Regions from separate parts of the Homo sapiens genome. Here region 2 is linked to region 1. Evidence: promoter capture Hi-C in 16 types of primary human blood cells and fetal thymus (Javierre and others, 2016). All regions are on one chromosome and are shown on one strand. Each heading gives the region's core, a stretch centred on a gene start or on the middle of the fragment in contact. The rest is flanking DNA. Distances are from core to core; before and after follow the strand shown. Region 1 holds the start of CRYBG2 (crystallin beta-gamma domain containing 2). Region 2 overlaps CEP85 (centrosomal protein 85).

Region 1 (5,672 bases), core at 718-3,217:
ACCGCCTTCCATCTTTGGTCCCTCTTCCCCACTTCCTGGCATGGCCCCTCAGGGGTGAGGCTGGGCTAGTGGCTTAACCTCCTGCCCCAGTTTCCTCATCTGCAGTAAGGACCTGAGCCCTGAATTGAACAGTGAAAAAGTGTTCTTCCCTTGGAGGAGTGAGGGCAGCCTCCTCTGGAGGTGGCTCAAGCAGCCATGTGTCTCTCTTGGGTCTTGAATACCATGAGTAATTGCCAGTGTTTAATTGCCTACTTGTCATGTGTTGGGCCCTCTGCATGGACTATCTTGTACCATCTGTACCACACTCTCAGGAGGCAGGTACTGTTATTATCACACCCATTTTCCACATGAGGAAACTGAAATACAAACGGTACTGCAGCTATTATAGGAAGCAGCAGGGCGGAGATTCAAGCCCAGGTTGCCTCGATCCAAGCCTCCAGGTTCATCACTGTACTCTTGTCTCTTGAGGTGGTCAGCCCCTGGGGAATGAGAGGCTGCATCTGTTTCATAGATGAGTAAATTAAGGCATTTGGCAGCAAGGATCCCTGCTAGGCGGAATTTTGACCTCCTCTGTTGCCAAGGAAACAGCCCATCTTTTAAAACGGGTCGTTTTGGGGGCAGTGTCCATCTGGGTCTGGGGTGCTGAGCCCTCTCCTCTTATCCCCACAGCCAGGCTGGACCCCAGGGGAAGACAGCAGAAGAGGTCAGGTGTTGTCCCATTTCAGGGGAACCCTCTTCTCTGGCTCCCTTATATCCCAGGTACATCCTCCCAGGTGTTCTGTCTCAAGCTGGGAGGGTACAAGAGAGGTGGCCGCAGTCTCTCTGTTAGCTTGGAATGGGCAGAGGCCATGGGCACTTGAGGCAGGCCTTCCCACCCAGCCCTCAGCCCCAGGGCGGGGAAGCACCTCAGGACTGCAAGGAAGCTGAGATCTCCAGCCTTTGGGGGGCATGGCCGGCCAGGCCCTGGGTGCCTTGTCACCTGGGAGGGAGTGCGGCACCTGAGCGTTGGGAGCCCTCGCTGGCTTGCTGTGTGATCTCAGTCATGTCGCCGTCTTCTTTGGGCCCCACTTTCCTCTTACGTAGAATGGGAAGGGGTGAGTTAAATGCTGAAGGGCCTTCCCAGAGCTCTGTCCCTTTGTCCAGCTCTGGTGGCCTTAGCAGCCTCTCCCTAGGGCAGCTTACCTTGGTGTCAGAGCCCTGTTCAGCTTCCTTGTGACAGGGAAGATACCAGGTACCAGGGGTGCCTGGAGGGCAGGGGGAGCTGTCACTATGCCCCTGCCTCTCTCAGTGTCTATCTCTGTTTTCACCCAGGCCCAAGGCCAGAGCTGCTCAGAATGGGACATCCATGTAGGGGACCATGATGATTTCTGGATTTGGAAGCAACAAGGAATCTCGGGGGGTCCTGCTCAGTCCCTGGGGCGCCTACAGAGGCCAGCGGTGGGCAGCGCCTTCGACCTGGCCAGCCATGCCTCCCTGGGGCCTGAGAGCCTGGCCCTGGAAGTGGCCTCAGGAGAGTCTGCTCGTACCAGGCTCCCCCAATACCCAGGGCCTGCTCCTGGACATGGGGAGCAGGGATCCTCAGGCTGCACCTGTCAGCAGTCTCCACCCACAGCTTCAGAGGTCCCTCTGAGGCCTGAGCCACCCAGCAACCTGGAAGACGCACCCCTGCTGCTCCACCCTGCATCCTTCCCCAGGGCAGAGGGGACAAAGGGCAAGCCCGCCACCCCAGGGACTGCCTTGCCAGAGCCTGCCCAGACCCTACACACGCGTCCCTCTTCCAGGAGGACCCGCTACTACATCACTGTCACCCTGCTGGGGCACAGGCAAGCACCAGGGGAGGAGGGTGAAGAACCGGCCCAACCAGCTCCACACCTCTGCGGCCCTGAGGAATCTGAGGGCTGGTGGGAGCCTCCCCAGGGGCCACGCCCCATCACAGGGTGCCGGACGGCCCCGCCTCAGGAACCCCAGCTGAGAGCCCAATCGCATCAGGGGAGCACGGCCCAGCAGCAGGAGCTCCAGGCTGGCTGGACACCTGGGTCCCCACGCAGACTGTGAGTAGAGGTCGGTCTGTGTGTGGAGATGGGAGGGGAGACTGGCCTGGCTGCCCTGTCTTGAGACTTTGCCTATTCCCTGGGCCTCTCCAGCTCTAGGCCCATTCATTCAGGACCCTGAGCCGACTCTGCCTTCCCTCCCTGCTCCAACCCTGCCTTCCTCTCCCTCCCTTTGCCCACAGGCTACCTCCTGGAACCCACTGCTTCTCACCCCCACTGTCCATCTGAGAAAGGGGAAAGTCTGTCAGGGAGAGGATGGGCAGGAAGGGGGGTTGCCTTCTTCACAGCATACACCACTCCCCAGTTCTGTTCAGGAGGCCACAGACTCAGCCTGGGAATTGGCACCCAGCCTAGGTGCTGGGTGTCCTGAGGCGAGTTGCTTAACCTCTCTGGGCCTTGAGTTGTTGAGAGGATTTGGTAGCTGAAAATGAGGAAGGAGGAGGTGGCTACAGGAATATACTTTGAACTCCAGAGACTGGGGGTGCCAAAATAGCAGGGATGCTTATTAATTACGTCTCAGTGACAGCAATAATTACCCCACCTGGCTCTGAGCTGGAAGCCAAAGGAGTGGGTGTCGAGTTTCCCAAGCCTAGTTTTATTTGTGTTGAAATGACTCTCCTAAATCTGCCTGGGGGGCGCAGAGGTGGAAGGATATGTCCCCCAAAGCTCATCAAGGAGGGATGAACATGGAACCTCCCAGGGATGACCCTGAAGAGGAAATGAGCCTGGGGTGGGGTTTTGAAGGGTGCTTAAGGATGATGGGGTGGCTGTCATTTGCAATTTGTTTTCTAAGCATAATTTTATTTAATCTTCCCAACCATCCCATGAGTAGGGACTGATCCCAACCCCTGTCACCTAATTCTAGGAGGCTCTGAAAGTCACTTGCTCAAAGTCAACTAGAAAGTGAAGGGGCTAGAATCTGAACTTAGGTTTCTATAACTCCAGTGCCTGTGCTCTAACCACTGCTCCATCCTGCCTGGAAGAAACCTCTTTGGCCCTGTGCAGAGAGTGGAGGGTTGAGTGAGGTTGCTGTGTGGGCTCCAGGGTTTTCTAGGCTCCTATGGCGGTGGATTGGGCAGCATTGTAGTAGCAGAGGCAGAATCAGGAATGCTGGGGTCCTCCAAGCAGGGGTCAATGTGACTGCTTCCGTGCCAAGGAAGAGGGAGATGTAGGACCCAGGCTGGCTCTGAGACCTGCTTGGATGCCCCAGAAGTCAGGGGCTGGGGGACAAGGGCTGCAGAGAGAGGGAAGGGGGGTGGAGGAGGCTACCTTGGAGAGGGGGACGGGAAAGAGAAGTAGGGTTAGCTGGGGGGAGGTGGTTTCTATCTGCCACTACCTGGGTATTTTGGGCCCAGGTGGATAATGACAGACTCAGGTGGGAGGCTAGGGCTCACTTAGAGTGGGGGGCAGGTGACCTCCAGAAACATCATCCTTCTATGTCCCCTTCCTGGGAGAAGGTTCTCTGGGCCAAGATTGGCAAATATGGGAGTCGAGAAGAAGTGAGACATAGCTGGGACTGCCAGTGGGAATGTGTAAGATACGTGTGCATCCAAGCGTGTGTGTCCACGTTCAGGGGTAGGTGAATTTCAAGGGGAAGAGAGCTTGGGGCTGTGAATTGACTGTGTGTGTATTGTGAATGTGTGCACGTGTGTGTCACTGTGCCTGTGTTTCTGTCTGTATGTGATTTGTGTGTCTGTTGTGGCTCTGAGTGCCTGTGCGTGTTTGTATTTCTTGGGTGAGTGTATATTTGTGTGTGTGTCCCTGGTTGTGTATGTTTTTATAGGCTTCTAGGTGTATCTTTGTGCCTGTGTGATTGTGGGTCTGTGTCGGTATCTGTCTGTGTGTCTGTGCCTGCGTCTGTGTGACACAGCATGTGTTTGCCTGCATGTGGGCCTGTGGACTGGTTTGGCCTAGTTTGGGGGTGACTCACAGGTAAGTGGGGAGAATCCAGGACTTGTTGGGTTAGACAAGGCTCTTTCCCACACTCCCCCCGCCCCCTCCTCAGCCTCTCCCTTCCCAGCTCCACACGCCTTGTTTGGAGGTCACAGGTCACGCTGCCAACAAATCCACTTCTGGTCTGGGGCCCTGCAGAAGAAAGGGCTCTGGGAATGGCCCCTTCTGCTGGCCCAGGAGAGGCATCCTGGGTCATTGTATTGGGGTATGTCTTCAGAGCAAGGACAAAAGGGGGCATCTATAGGCAGGCACATTCCAGCAGAGTCTGAAGGACATTCTAGCACTCATGACTGTTCAGGGACGGGGCAGGTGAACTGTCGAGTGGTGACCTCCCTGTCCCTGGAGGTATGCAGGCAGAAGCCAATGACCACATGCTTGTGGAATGACTGGCTATCAGGGGTGTTGTCCAGGGGTTGGGCTGGTTGAGAAAGACGTTAAATTCTGATTGGTAGGAGGTCATCGACAATATCTGATCTCATGATCGGCCGCCTCCTTTAACATTGCTCTCCTGTCGCTTTCCTGATGCCTATGGCGCTTTCCAAATGTCCCTGTTTTTATGTCTAATTCCTTGGCCCCTGGCTTCTTAATATGCCACCTTTCATGAGAAAGTTGGCTCTGGTTCTGGTTGAGTCTAGCCAAGGCCTAGCACATCCCTTGATACAATTAGCACTGAATGAGTGAGTAATTGAATGAATGAATGAATGAGTTAGAGCTCAAGCTTTGCCACTTACTATAAGCACCATCAGAGACAAGGAAGCTCGGAGAGTGGAAGGCAGGTGGACAGGGGCTTAGGAGGTGCTCAGCGAGGGCGTCAAACTTCATTTGGGCAGAGTCCCAGCGAGGAGGGCAGGGGTTGCATGAGGAAAAAGGGAGCTCCCTAATGGGGACAGGGGAGTGGGCTGGGGCCTCAGTGAGAGGCTAAAATCCAGAGCCTTTGGTGTCTGGCTGTGTACTGCTCTCAGGAAGCCCTGGCCTGGGAAAATGACCAGGGCTCTACCTAACCCCTCCACCTTCCAGTCCCCCTTGGACCCTGTCCCTGACACTGTCATAGCCACCAGCAGTCCTGGAGTCAGGTCAGGCTTCCCGGGGCTTCAGTCTCTTTCATCTCTGCCCCTCATAAAGCCTGAGTCACTGCTGTGGCCACAGGGAAGGGTCAAAGTTCTGAATTCCACCAGCTTCTCAGGAAGGAGGACAATGGGAAATGGGGGAGGGGAGTGGGGGCAGTGGGTCCATTTCCTGCCCAGAGTCAGGTCTCTTGGGGAGGGGAGGGTACCTCATGGAGAAGGCCCAAAGACTCGGGCTGAACAGGCTGGCCTCTCTGGGGTTCGTGGGGCCTAAGAATAGGATTGCCCTGGTCAGTGTAGCTTGGAAGTCAGGGAGTGGGGGTGGAGACGCCCTCCAGGACTGACATGGCTCCCTGTAAATGTAAACCCCCAAACCAGAGACTCAGTTATAGGATACATATATTAGGGAGTTTGGTATGGTGAGTGAGCACTTAGGGTTGGGGTTCAAGTCTTGTTTCGGTTACTCTGTGACTTTGGACAAGTTTCTTAACCTCTCTGAGCATTTAAAAAATCTCATCTGCAAAATGGGAAGGTATGATCTAATTTATTAATAATTTATTCTTTATGAGGTCTCAAGCTCCTGGGATTCTTCTGAGGCTTCAAT
Region 2 (5,867 bases), core at 1,683-4,182, 110 kb after region 1:
CTTCTTCTATTCTTTGGATCACAGTGACTGCCTGATTTGAAAGAATCTTTATACACTCAGTAATCTGTAATTGTTATAGAAGACACAGGCAACAATCCGAGTTTCTGAGCGGCATGAGATTAGCCAATGCTACTATACTAAGTTGGTGTAATTCTAGCCCAAAGCAAAGAAATCCCACCTTCTGGTGAGTCTACACAGCTTTTTCTCTCTAGTCAGTGTAAAATTTGCCAGGCCTTTTGAAACAGTTAAGATTGAGGGCCTCTATTACCATCTTCCTGACTTCCTACTGGAAACCGCTTCCCTGTTACTACTACTAATCTTCCACTCTTCATCGCTACCATTTTTCCATCCACCTACTCCATACCCTAATTCCAAAGAGTTATTTGTTAAAAATATATTTTGGTATATTTATAGAGGTTTACACTTATTTCAAAATTGAAGTTTAAATGCTGAAGTTGGCCGGGTGCAGTGGCTCATGCCTGTAATCCTAGCACTTTGGGAGGCGGGGGTGGGCAGATTACCTGAGCTCAGGAGTTGGAGACCAGCCTGGGCATATGGCGAAACCCGTCTCTACTAAAAATACAAAAAAATTAGCCAGGTGTGGTGGTGCATGCCTGTAATCCCAGCTACTTGGGAGGCTGAGGCACAAGAATCACTTAAACCCAGGAGACAGAAGTTGCAGTGAGCTGAGATTGTGCCACTGCACTCCAGCCTGGGCCACAGAACAAGACTCCGTCTCCAAAAAAAAAAAAGAAAAGCTGAAATTTTTTGTGTTATAGTGCATGTCCTATCAGTAGCATCCTTATCAATTATTAAGACCATTATTAATCTGAATGAGATACTATTGAAGAGAGAAAAAAGCCATAGGAAAGGCATTGTTCCAAAAACTTGCATTATATACATAATTGTCATAGAAACTGTACAAACCTAAGAGAATGTGCAGCACATAGCAGATGTTTAAAAAATATTTCCTGAGGCCGGGTGCAGTGGCTCACGCCTGTAATCCCAGCACTTTGCGAGGCCCAGGCGGGCAGATCACAAGGTCAGGAGATTGAGACCATCCTGGCTAACATGGTGAAACCCCGTCTCTATTAAAAAATGCAAAAAAATTAGCTGGGCATGGTGGCGGGCACCTGTAGTCCCAGCTACTTGGGAGGCTGAGGCAGGAGAATGGCATGAACCCGGGAAGCGGAGCTTGTAGTGAGCCGAGATCACGCCACTGCACTCTAGCCTGGGTGACAGAGCGAGACTCCATTTCAAAAAAAAAAAAAAAATTCTGCTGAATGAATCTTGAATTGATTCAACCAAAGCTTATAATGGTGCCTACTCTATGCAAGGCAGCATGCCTAAGAGAATACACCAAACATTTACCAAATATCTACGCTGAGTAAGGCACTGTGAGATTTTAAAGTTAAATAAAACATACCCTGAGTTGAATTAAACGTGCCCTCTTCTTTACCAATACCCCAGAATTCAACAAGTCATTTTTCTAAAATATTACTTATTTGAAATATATATTATCTACTTAATATGCCTGCACAGTGCATACATATATTTATGTGTTTAATATACAGTCAGCTCTCCATATCCATGGTTTCTTTTTTTTCCCCTTTTTTTTTTTGAGACACAGTCTCACTCTGTTGCCCAGGCTGGAGTGCAGTGGCGTCATCTCAGCTCACCTCAACCTCTGCTTCCCGTGTTCAAGTGATTCTCCTGCCTCAGCCTCCCAAGTAGCTGGGATTATTATAGGCACATGCCACTGCACCCGGCTAATTTTTGTATTTTTAGTAGACATGGAGTTTTACCATGTTGGCCAGGCTGGTCTCAAACTCCTGACCTCAGGTGATCCACCCGCCTTGGGCTCCCAAAGTGCTGGGATTACAGGCATGAGCCACAGCGCCTGGCCATATCCGTGGTTTCTACGTTTGTGAATTCAACCAATTTTTTTTTTTAATGGTATCTTACTGAATGTGCATAAGACTTGTTTTTCTTCTTATTCCCCAAACAATACAGTATAACTATTTACATAGCATTTACATTGCATTGGGTATTACAAGTAATCTAGAGACGATTTAAGGTAAACATTAGGATATACACAGGTTATATGCAAATACCACACCATTTTATATCAGGGACTTGAGTATCTGTGGATTTTGCTATCTGCAGGAGGTCTTGGAACCAGTCCGCCATGGACACTTAAGGACTGTATATATTTAATATATCTACTGAAGTTTCAAAATCTTGTTAATCCATTCTGAAGATAAATTCCTGAGTTTCTAGTAACAATGCAACGGAATCTGTTGGCATCCAAGCAGAATTCCTATTTTTGTGGGCTAGCAGATGACTGACCCACCCAGAGGACAAAGACAACATAGAACACAGTAATTTATGCTGTGTTTTTCTGATTTCAAATGGAACTATGTTCCAAAGTCATTCTGTTCCAATCCTTTATATGTCGTCCTCTCCCAACCACGTGGTCCTGTTGAAAGCCACATAGCACAAGAGATAAATACTTGTTCCCTCAGAGACCTGTTTTTATATTCAATGAAGCCCCATGTTATTTTTATTCTTTTAGCACCAGCATTTCAGTGAATGCTTGTTTGTTCAATATTTACCTTAAGGAATATGAAAAAACAGAACAAAGGTCAGAATTTAACCCAGAAAACTTCTGACTACTCACTCGGTGAAGTGACGTGAGAGATCCCCTCAGTTGGATATTTCTCCTGCATGGCCATCAATCACAGTTATTTAAGCCAACTGTAGAATGAAGGAATAACCAGTCAGTTCTCTGAAGTATCTTTAATTCCCCGCAACTCAGTTCCCATTCAACTGAAACTGTCAAAACCATATAGAATATTCAAGTATTTGGCCAGGCACAGTGGCTCACACCTGTAATCCCAGCACTTTGGGAGGCCAAGGCGGGCAGATCAACTGAGGTCAGGAGTTCGAGACCAGCCTGACCAACATGGGGAAACCCCATTTCTACTAAAAACACAAAAATTGGCCGGGCATGGTGGCACACATCTGTAGTCCCAGCTACTTGGGAGGCTGAGGCACAAGGATTGCTTGAACCCGGGAGGCAGAGGTTTCAGTGAGCCAAGATCACACCACTGCACTCCAGCCTGGGCAACTGAGCAAGACTCCATCTCAAAAAAAATAAAAAAGAATATTCCAGTATTCTAAATGTTATATTCCTAAGGATATTTAGGAGTAAATATGTTTTTACATGTTTTACTTCTAAGGATATTTTTAAGACAAAGTAAATCCCAATACTCCACTCTACTTCTCTTCCCAAATCCAGTATAGAAAACCTAGAACCAGAGATTACCAATACAGATTCCATACGGTCCTAGAACCCTTCTGATTTTTATAAAATTTAAAAATATTACTTTTAATTAACAAACTTTACCATGAATCTTCTTAGCCATGGGGACCTGATGACAGGACGAGGTGGATAAAGAACTAAAGAACTAAACCAACAGTGAAGTATTACAGCATCAATTATGATTAACACAAAACAAATTCCTCAATTCTTCCAGTAATTAAAGTCAGTCATACGATGTAAAAAGATGGGAAAGAATTCTTGCTCATAAGTAGAACTCCAATCCTGAGCTAGGAACGTGAAGTTCTCGTCCCATGTTCTCACTCCTTAAAATATTTATATTTACAGTACACTAGGGGTAGGTGCTGAGAATTCAGCAGAAGTGGATTTGAAGTCTAAACAAATACACTTGAACCCACTAAACATTAAGTTATCAATTTATTAGCTGTGTAACCTTGGGCAAATTTCTTAGTATCTCTGTTCCTCATTTTCTTCATATAAAAATGAGGATAACAACACAACCTAATTCATGTTAATTCACTTATAATTAACTTACAACAGTTCCTGACACATACTAAGTGCTGTTATTACTTGGCAATTTACATCAACAAAAGTAGCACTGTACAGCCCATGGAAGATCAAGGAGTATCAACTCAGAAACTCTAAATTTATAAAAGCCCCAAAAGAGTTTGGGACAATTCGGCCGGGCTCAGTGGCTCACGCCTGTAATCCCAGCACTTTGGGAGGCCGAGGCAGGCGGATCACCTGAGGTCAGGAGTTCGAGACCAGCCAACATGGTGAAACCCCGTCTCTACTAAAAATACAAAAATTAGCCAGGCATGGTGGCAGGCGCCTGTAATCCCAGCTACTTGGGAGGCTGAGGCAGGAGAATCGCTTGGACCATGGAGGCGGAGGCTGCAGTGAGCCAAGATCGCGCCATTGCACTCCAGCCTGGGCGACAGAGCAAGACTCCGTCTCAAAAAAAAAAAAAAAAGAGTTTGGGACAATTCACAGAACATAATTCTATCACTCTGGAGAAAAAAGACTATATGGTACTATTTCTCTAATGTACTTTAGTGACCTCTATAGTATTCTCTTGTTACTAAGAGAATACTATAGAGGTCACTAAAGTACATAACAACCCAAACCCTTATTAATTCACTGCATCTACAATAGAAAGGGTATCATCCTCCACAATTCCAGTTCTTCACATACTGGGTGAGGGAAGCTTTGTTCAGTAATAAAAGCTTTAGTTTATGGCAAGTATGATTCAGTGAGTTAAATGATGACATAGAATGATTAGATTACCTCCTTACTAGTGATTTCCTTTCTTGTCAATATCAAAATCCTTTTCTTCACTCCTTTCTTTAAAGGATAACAAAATGGTAGGCGCACTGGATTCTAAGGTGTTTCTAAATTCAGACAAGTTGAAAATACGGTGACAGAAGGAGAACTCCGAGTTACCCTATGACTCAGCAATTCCACACTGAAGTATACACCCAAGAGAAATGAAAACACAGGTTTACACAAAAGCTTCAATAAGAATGTTCGTAGCAGCATTATTTACAATAGCCAAAAAGTGGAAACAACACAAACGTCCATGAGCTAATGAATGGATACATAAAATGTGGTATATCCAAAAAACAGAGTATTATTCAGCAATAAAAGGAAGTACTGATACATGTGACAACATGGATGAACACTGAAGACATGCAAAGTCAAAGAAGCCAAACAAAAGGCTTGATCCTATTTATATGAAATGTCAGAATAGGCAAATCCATAGAGACACAGATTAGTGATTGCAAAGGACTGAGAGGAGGGAGGGTAGGAGAATAGGAAGGGACTGCTAATGGATACCGGGTTTCTTTTCAGGGTGATCAAAATGTTCTGAGATTAGATAGTGGTGACTGACTGCACAACCTTGCCAATATATTAAAAACCTCTGAATTGCACACACATAAAATTAAATTTTATGTTATGTGATATAAGCCAAAAAAAAAATTCTAAGACATCCCCAACCACCTGAATGGATCCCTCCCCTTGGCCAATGGCATTCCAAAGTTAAGCTGAAAAACCTGTTAAGGCCATGATGGTGGTAGTGGTGGTGGAGTCCTACACCCCTCATTATACCCTCCTCCCTTCTGGAATTTAGGAAAAGCATTAACATTAACACAGATGTCTGTAAGAAACATTTATAATCTATTCTCTCTAAAGCCTACTATTTGGAGGCTTCATCTGTACAATAAAATGTTGATCCCCAGGATACCTTAACCCAGACATTCCTTTCTATTGATAACAACTTTCAACCAACTGCCAATCAGAAAATTTTGAAATCTACCTATGACCTGGAAGCCCCCACCCACTAAGAGTTGTCTTACCCTTCCAGATCAATGTAAATCTTACATGTATTTGACTGATGTCTCATGTCTACCTAAAATGTTTAAAACCAGGGCACACGTTATCAGGATCACCTGAGGGCTGTGTCAGGGGCCACTGGTCACCCATATTTGGCTCAGAATAAATCCCTTCAAATATTTCAGAGTCT

The links. The method cuts DNA at HindIII sites, captures the fragments that hold promoters and counts their contacts. A CHiCAGO score of 5 or more calls a contact.
Region 2: a fragment that was not itself captured here is called in contact with the fragment with the promoter of CRYBG2 in region 1 in 1 of 17 cell types (M2 macrophages); the score reaches 6.3 in M2 macrophages.

Annotation. Positions count from the first base shown.
Region 1 is chr1:26,350,425-26,356,096 of GRCh38, reverse strand. It overlaps CRYBG2 (crystallin beta-gamma domain containing 2), which reads left to right and starts at 1,967. Exons shown (of 20, transcript NM_001039775.4): 1 at 1,967-2,061. RefSeq lists a silencer at 4,468-4,666. The HindIII fragment of the contact is 7,544 bases long and covers 1-4,724 here.
Region 2 is chr1:26,236,652-26,242,518 of GRCh38, reverse strand. CEP85 (centrosomal protein 85) reads right to left here. Exons shown (of 14, transcript NM_001319944.2): 2 at 2,681-2,757. The coding sequence starts at 2,735. Among named protein-coding and RNA genes, the nearest start is that of CEP85, 5.4 kb to the right of the region's middle. The HindIII fragment of the contact is 3,240 bases long and covers 1,313-4,552 here.